2 separate regions of the Homo sapiens genome follow, and region 2 is linked to region 1. Evidence: promoter capture Hi-C in 16 types of primary human blood cells and fetal thymus (Javierre and others, 2016). All regions are on one chromosome and are shown on one strand. Each heading gives the region's core, a stretch centred on a gene start or on the middle of the fragment in contact. The rest is flanking DNA. Distances are from core to core; before and after follow the strand shown.

The links. The method cuts DNA at HindIII sites, captures the fragments that hold promoters and counts their contacts. A CHiCAGO score of 5 or more calls a contact.
Region 2: a contact is called between a fragment that was not itself captured here and the fragment with the promoter of DEPDC1-AS2 in region 1, in 4 of 17 cell types (naive B cells, total B cells, neutrophils and 1 more). The highest score is 6.0, in naive B cells.

What each region holds. Positions count from the first base shown.
Region 1 is chr1:68,477,471-68,480,834 of GRCh38, reverse strand. It overlaps DEPDC1-AS2 (DEPDC1 antisense RNA 2), which reads right to left and starts at 1,706. Exons shown (of 2, transcript NR_198991.1): 1 at 1,526-1,706. DEPDC1 (DEP domain containing 1) reads left to right here. Exons shown (of 12, transcript NM_001114120.3): 10 at 1,515-1,691; 11 at 2,863-3,048. The HindIII fragment of the contact is 5,599 bases long and covers 895-3,364 here.
Region 2 is chr1:68,144,948-68,148,540 of GRCh38, reverse strand. It overlaps WLS (Wnt ligand secretion mediator), which reads left to right. Exons shown (of 12, transcript NM_024911.7): 8 at 342-405; 9 at 2,529-2,672. The region is part of intron 9 of GNG12-AS1 (GNG12, DIRAS3 and WLS antisense RNA 1); the gene reads right to left. Among named protein-coding and RNA genes, the nearest start is that of MIR1262, 37 kb to the left of the region's middle. RefSeq lists an enhancer at 1-816. The HindIII fragment of the contact is 3,622 bases long and covers 194-3,593 here.

The sequences.
Region 1 (3,364 bases), core at 457-2,956:
CAATTTACAAGAGGTTCTTATAGCAAGGAATCCGGAGTTATGCTTTCTTCCACGCGTTATTAAAGATAGTTCTTTAACAATGACAGACCTAATATAAAGAAGAAGAATTATTCTTGAGTAATTATAGCACTATTAAAAAGCTAGGAAGTTTATAGAGGAAGATGTTTTCAGAGACATGACTGGGAAGGTGATAATTTTGGTTTTGCACTTTTAAGATTTGAAGTCATAGGACCTCCAAGAGAAATTGAAATTTGTCCAACAGAATGTTGGAAATATGAGCCAGGTGAAGAAAGATCAGGGGAGAATGCAAATTGATTTGGTCATTTACATAGGGATAGTACTTGAAGCTATGAGAGTAGATGAGCTCTACAAGGCTAAGAGTGTGAAGAAAGAGCAAAAGGCTGAGGTCTGAGCCATGGAAGGAGACAGGAAACCCCGAGTGATGTGTAGGAATAAAACTAAAAATGTATCAATTCTATAAATATTCTGATCATCTACTATGTGTGAAATATTTAAAACAATTCTGATTTCTAAGTATTTTAGAATGAGGGGTGTGTGTGTGTGTGTGTGTGTGTGTGTGTGGTACAGTTAGAGGGTTGCATAGATATAAGTGAAAGTAACGAGAGTAATAAGTGAGAGTAATCAATTTTATCCCAGGATTTGAAGATCCCATAAGATGGAATTGAAAAATGTGTGTTTTAAATTGCTGTCTAAAGACTGACAGAATAAACATTTTTAAAAACTATTTTCCAGCATTTCAAAAGCTAAATGGCATCAGCTTTGCAACCACTTATGAATAGAAGTGTTCTATATGTTACACATTCTCCTGGTTTGTGTTTTTCTGTGGGATTCATTTAATGTAATTAGTTATTGTTCTCTGACAATCTTTAAGCTTAAGCAACATATATATGTGGTATTAATAGAACCTATGGTGTTTACTGATAAAATTGTGACAAAATTGTAGAAAAACCAAAGCCTTTTATAATTCTTGGGAATTACATTAAGGATATACTTTTTTTTTTTTTTTCTGGTTACACAGGATCACGCTCTGTTTCCCAGGCTAGAGTACAGTGGTGTGATCATAGCTCACTGCACCCTGGAATTCCTGGGCTCAAAAAATCCTTCTGCCTCACTCTCCCAAGTAGCTGGAACCACAGTCATGCACCATCATGCCTGGCTAGTTTTTTATTTCTTCATAGGTATAGGGTTTCACTATGTTGCCTAGGCTGGCTTCGAACTCCTTGCCTCAAGTGAGCCTCTCACCTCAGCCTCCCAAAGTGCTTAGATTACAGGCATGAACCACCATGCTCAGCCATGGAAAAACTTTAAAAAGGATTTATGTATAATCAAATTCTTACATTTCTAACTGTATAAATCGTTGTCCTCATTTTTAAACTGAGGGCTGCTTACCACTTTTTCCCAATACTTCACATAATGCTACCTGGAAATTACCGATATTCTAGTTTGTATGCAACCTTAGCTTTTTAAATTCACATCTTTTAATATTTTTCTAGATGATACATACCTTTTCTCGATGTGTGTTATGCTGTGCTGAAGAAGTGGATCTTGATGAGCTTCTTGCTGGAAGATTAGTTTCTTTCTTAATGGATCATCATCAGGAAATTCTTCAAGTACCCTCTTACTTACAGACTGCAGTGGAAAAACATCTTGACTACTTAAAAAAGGGACATGTAAGTATTGTGAGTCTTAAAATTCTCTGCAATAGTCAGTTGCAAGTGGCAAACTCATCTCAAAATAGCTTAATCAAAAAGGGAGACTTTATCAGCTCCCATAAACAACCTCTAAAAGTCAGGAATGTAGACAGAATCTGGGACTCAAATAGCTATATGACTCTTTCCATCCCTCCATCTCTTATTTCTGTGTTGATCCTGTGTTTGACAATGGCTCCTTCACATGATGAGGAATGTGGCTAGTTGAAGTTCATGAGTTAGAGCCTTACATTTGCAATTCAAAGGAAAAAGAGCCATTCCTCCGTCTCCAATTTAAAAGCTCTGGATGTAGACTCTTAGCATAGTTGAGGTTAAATATGCATCGTTTAGGTTGTTAAGAGTGAGTAGGATGGAGATAGGGCCTTACTCTGATTGGTTCTACACAAAGGAGAATTTATTCTTCACAAAAGGTGAAGGTAGAGGGGTAAAATGGGAAGGAACTATTAAAAGAAGGAGAGAAGGAATACTGAGCAGCCAAAATAACAGACATCTACTGTATTCTGTCTTTGGCTGCCCAACACATGTTTATGTTTTTCCCATACATACCATTCTAATATTGCCCTGGCTTATAATTATAACTATCTCCTAGAATTTCTTTCTCTTATCAGAAGATGTTAGAAGCTCTGCCTATGTCCCTAGGCCTCAAAAAAAAAAAAAATACATGAAAACTAAAAATATTTCATTTCAGTAAATATGCTGATCATCTACTACCTGCACTGTCAGAACATTAAAGTCTTAAGATGAATTAGAATAACACTTAGATTGTTATTTTATAGTTAAAAGAATAAAATCCATAGTTAATGGTAATAATTATAATACCTGTCTTTATTTAATGCTTATTGTGGGCTGAGCCCTTTCTATACATTTTCTTATGTAATTTCCATTTTAATGATGAAGAAACAGACCAAGAAAAGTTAAATACATTGTTGAATGCTACAAACCAAGTAGATTATGGAGCTGGGGTTTAGAACCTACTGACTTACATACCTCTACTGCATAATACATAGTTTTTTTAATGGCTGAATGTTTGATTGGTGGTAAATTAATAGGTGCTAGATCCCATCAAAAGAATACTTTATCATATAAGAACATGACCAGAATTAACAGAGTTATATCATTTTGATCACTACAGATTGAAAATCCTGGAGATGGACTATTTGCTCCTTTGCCAACTTACTCATACTGTAAGCAGATTAGTGCTCAGGAGTTTGATGAGCAAAAAGTTTCTACCTCTCAAGCTGCAATTGCAGAACTTTTAGAAAATATTATTAAAAACAGGAGTTTACCTCTAAAGGAGAAAAGAAAAAAACTAAAACAGGTAAGAGAATGAGCAAGTTCTCAATCATGTAAACATTTTCTAATGTGCTGTTCCTGGTTGTTAATAACATTTAGAATCTACTTTCTTATTTTAATATTTTAGATTTTAAGTTTGAGTTATATAGACTATATATTATGATGTCTTGTATATGTGCGTTAACCTAAAACATGTGAGTACCTACCTGATTTTGCTCTTTATCCTGAATTTTAAAATAATACCAACAGTAATAATATATACTCTCCTTTTTCACTGGTATTTTGTATAATTATAGCTTGGATTAGCCTGGGAAAGCAATTTATAAGGTATGGATATGTAT
Region 2 (3,593 bases), core at 755-3,254, 330 kb after region 1:
CTGAGCCAAACTGTGCATCACCACGCCCACTCCTGTCATTTTAGGAGGAGTGTTTGAAAAGGAGAATGGTGGTCGGGAACCTTTGGTTTGGAAGCACTGGACGTGGTCACATCCTCAGACAAGGTCTGGGATCAAATCAAAGGCACAGCTCTTTACAGTTGAAAAATATTTGGGCCGATGTATTCTACAAGCTTCATTTCTCTTTAGGATTTCTGTAATGTTTTTTAGCCTAAATACAGCCCTCACCCCTGCAGCTGAAAAGCTAAGAATATGTGAAAAGGAAAGTTCCCGTTGCCTTTGTATTAATTGTGTCTTGCCTTTCCATCTCATTTTCTTTGTAGAGGGGTACAACTCACGAATCCCTTCTACAGTATCTGGACTACAGACATTGGAACAGAGCTGGCCGTATCCTTCCTTGATGGGCTCAGGGTTTTATTTCTTCCCCTGGCCACCCAGTCCCCAAGATCATTTTCTAAGGCTCTGCTGATGCTCCCCATATGTACTCAGCCAGGGCTTTGATTCTCAGGCCAATCATAACAGCACAATTAAGGCTAATAATAAGAAGAATTACTGCTTGCTTTCAAGCCTGGGTGAGAGCAGGCAAAATGAGAAGGTCACAGCCTATCCTCACAGCAGAGGGATCCGAGTTGCTAGGCTTACTGCAGCCTGTCTGAATTATCTGTTATACACTGTTTCCTGCAGACTGAAGCATGACTAGCTTTTCCCTGGAGCCATGGAGGTTCATCTCTGGGCCCCTGTGGAAGAGCCTGTTTCTGAAACCACCTATGTGTGAGACTTCTTAAGTGACCTTGGTGTGCTGGCAAATCACACTGCTGCTATTTATTCCTGAGACCAAGTGGAGATAAGGCTAAGGTGATTAGTTCCAGAGAAGTCGCCAAGGCTTCTGGTTGGTTGGCATAAACTCTAAGTCATCTTCATGAAGCAGAAGTGACAGTCTTAGCTTATCCCTTTTAGGATGCTGGATTTAAATATTTTATCTTCCGGAATAGTATGTGAAATGATCTTGGGAGAAAAAGACTCTGCTCTGGAGTGGAGAGAAAGGCTTGGGTTGTATTCTTCCTTGATGGCTCATATCTTGCCACGTGCTAGGGAATATCCTTTGTCTTGCCATGATGTTTATATTGGTTTCTCAGTGTCACAAGAACATTGTGAGCAAACTAAATCAGTAGTATCATTTCCTCAAAGATGAGAGAGAAGCTCTACCCTTCCTCTGTTATGCCCCCACCAAATGTTAGCTGCACAACAAGAAGAATGTTTCTAATGTTAAATCTAGTTCAACTTTTTTAATTTTGTAGATAGGATGGAGTGAGTAAAATTTCAAGTCCTGCAGAAAATAACTATATTCCCTTCATTCCAGGATGATGTTCATTATAGGAAAGAAGGAGAAACTGCATTAGATATTATATTATTTAATGAAATATGCACGCCAAGTTCATACTTATTAAATGCTTTTAAAAATAGACAATTTGGGCCAGGTGTGGTGGCTTATCCCTGTAATCCCAGCTACTCGGGAGGCTGAGGCAGGAGAATCGCTTGAACCTGGGAGGAGGAGGTTGTGGTGAGCCAAGATTGTGCCATCGCACTTCAGCCCGGGCAACAAAAGCAAAACTCTGTCTCAAAAAAAAAAAGGCAATTTGGGCAAAGTTGTAGCAGAAAGGGGTTGGAATCAGGTCATCTGCCTTCCAAGGCAGCTCACGCTATCCTAAGACTTGGTGGTTCTCAGACTGGCTCTAATTGGCAGGTCAGTCTCCCTAGTGGGTCTCAAGTATACTGGCAGCAACCCAGACTCCCACCTGTGCCATGTGTCCTTGAATCCCCATTCTGTTGGACAAGATTTTCTGTGGTGACAGAAGATTGCAAATAGTCCTTCATCCCTGGTTTCACTTTAAGACTTTCAAGCCCATGCCCAGGTCCCCTGCACTGAGCCCCCACGTATCTCCTCTTCAATTATGCCAGAGTATCTCAATCGCATTCTTATAAAACTCCAAGGACTAGCCCAGTGGTTCCCAAACATAGTCATACTTGATGTCCTAGCCCTGGAATATCTGATTCCATATATCTAGGGAGGGACCTGGGGATCTACATTTGAACCCTTCTGGTGATTTTACTGTGGTTTTTCATCTGATCCATAGTGACGAATATATGGTTTATTAGTGCTTCTCAAATTTATTGTGTATACGGATCTCCTGGGGACCTGGTTAAAAGGTAGATTCTGATTCATTAGGTCTAGGGTAGGGCCTAGATTCTTCATTTCTAACAAGCAAGACACCATTTCTTTTCTTACTTGGTTTAGAAAGCAATATTGAACACCTCCCTCTGTGGTACTAATGTGTCAAGAAACCTATCATTGGCATTAGAATATCAGGTTTTAATATTTTATCCCCTTGAAAATTTTCTACATATTTGGAGACAAAACAAGTATTGCCAACAGACCTGGGGAGAAGGGCCTGGACCCGGCTCAACTTGGCCTTGGCTAGCCCGTTGTTTCCTTTACTGGACACGACCAGATGGCCTTCATCATCGTGGCTGGAATCTGCCTCTGCCTCTACTTCCTGTTTCTATGCTTCATGGTATTTCAGGTGTTTCGGAACATCAGTGGGAAGCAGTCCAGCCTGCCAGCTATGAGCAAAGTCCGGCGGCTACACTATGAGGTGGGCAGATTTCTTGGCTCGTTCTGGAACTGGTGCTTGCTTGATCTTTCCACTTGATGTGTAAACACACACACCCTGGAGATAGAAAGCCTTTACTTTGAAATACAAATTGAGAGATTCTCATGTAGGATCTCTGGGCAAAATTAGAGGCCAAATCTTACTCTGAGAAGCATCTAGCTGGCCTAAATCTTGGTGTTTTCTGTGGTACAAATGTGTTTCCATTTTCAGTAATGAATAAACTTGTTCAGCCGGTTCTTCAGCTTGGTGATGGAATGTAGGTTACATACTAGCTGGGAGATTGGACTATGGCATAATTGGGATTTTGTTGGGATGAGGCTTTAGTCAAAGTTCTGTCCCAGAATCAACCCTGTCCTGTAATTAAACAGGGTTTAGCCCACGTGATCTGATTTCCAGACTCTTAACAGGCCACATTCCCCTAAAATATCCAGCAGATGCTCAGACAGAGTTCAGTAATCTCTGTTTATAGATTATGTTCCTCATTCAAGAGAAACACTTAACATCCTCAAATCCCCAATGCAAGCAACACATCCTTGATTTATCAGGGATCCCCTGGGTTCATGCCTAAGTGGCTGTCCTTGGAGAAACAAGCCTAATTCCTGTATGAAAAGAGAAGCAGAAACTACAGAACCTCAGAGTTTTTATATGCAGTAGATCTGCACAGAAGAGCCCCTGAATAATAGGCCTCCCTCTCTGAAACACAGGTTCTCTTAAATCCTGCTCTTAGGAAACCACAGGCACTTTCTAAGGCTTGCCTGTCTCCAGAGCTGGAGTGACATGAGAAAATTCAACCAAATCCACTTCATGTTGATTAATATGCACATTTCTTTTTGTTCACTGGAGCAGAATTTTATTACAACCACAGAAAACTTGGATTTGGTAACTTTGAACCCTTGCAGAGAA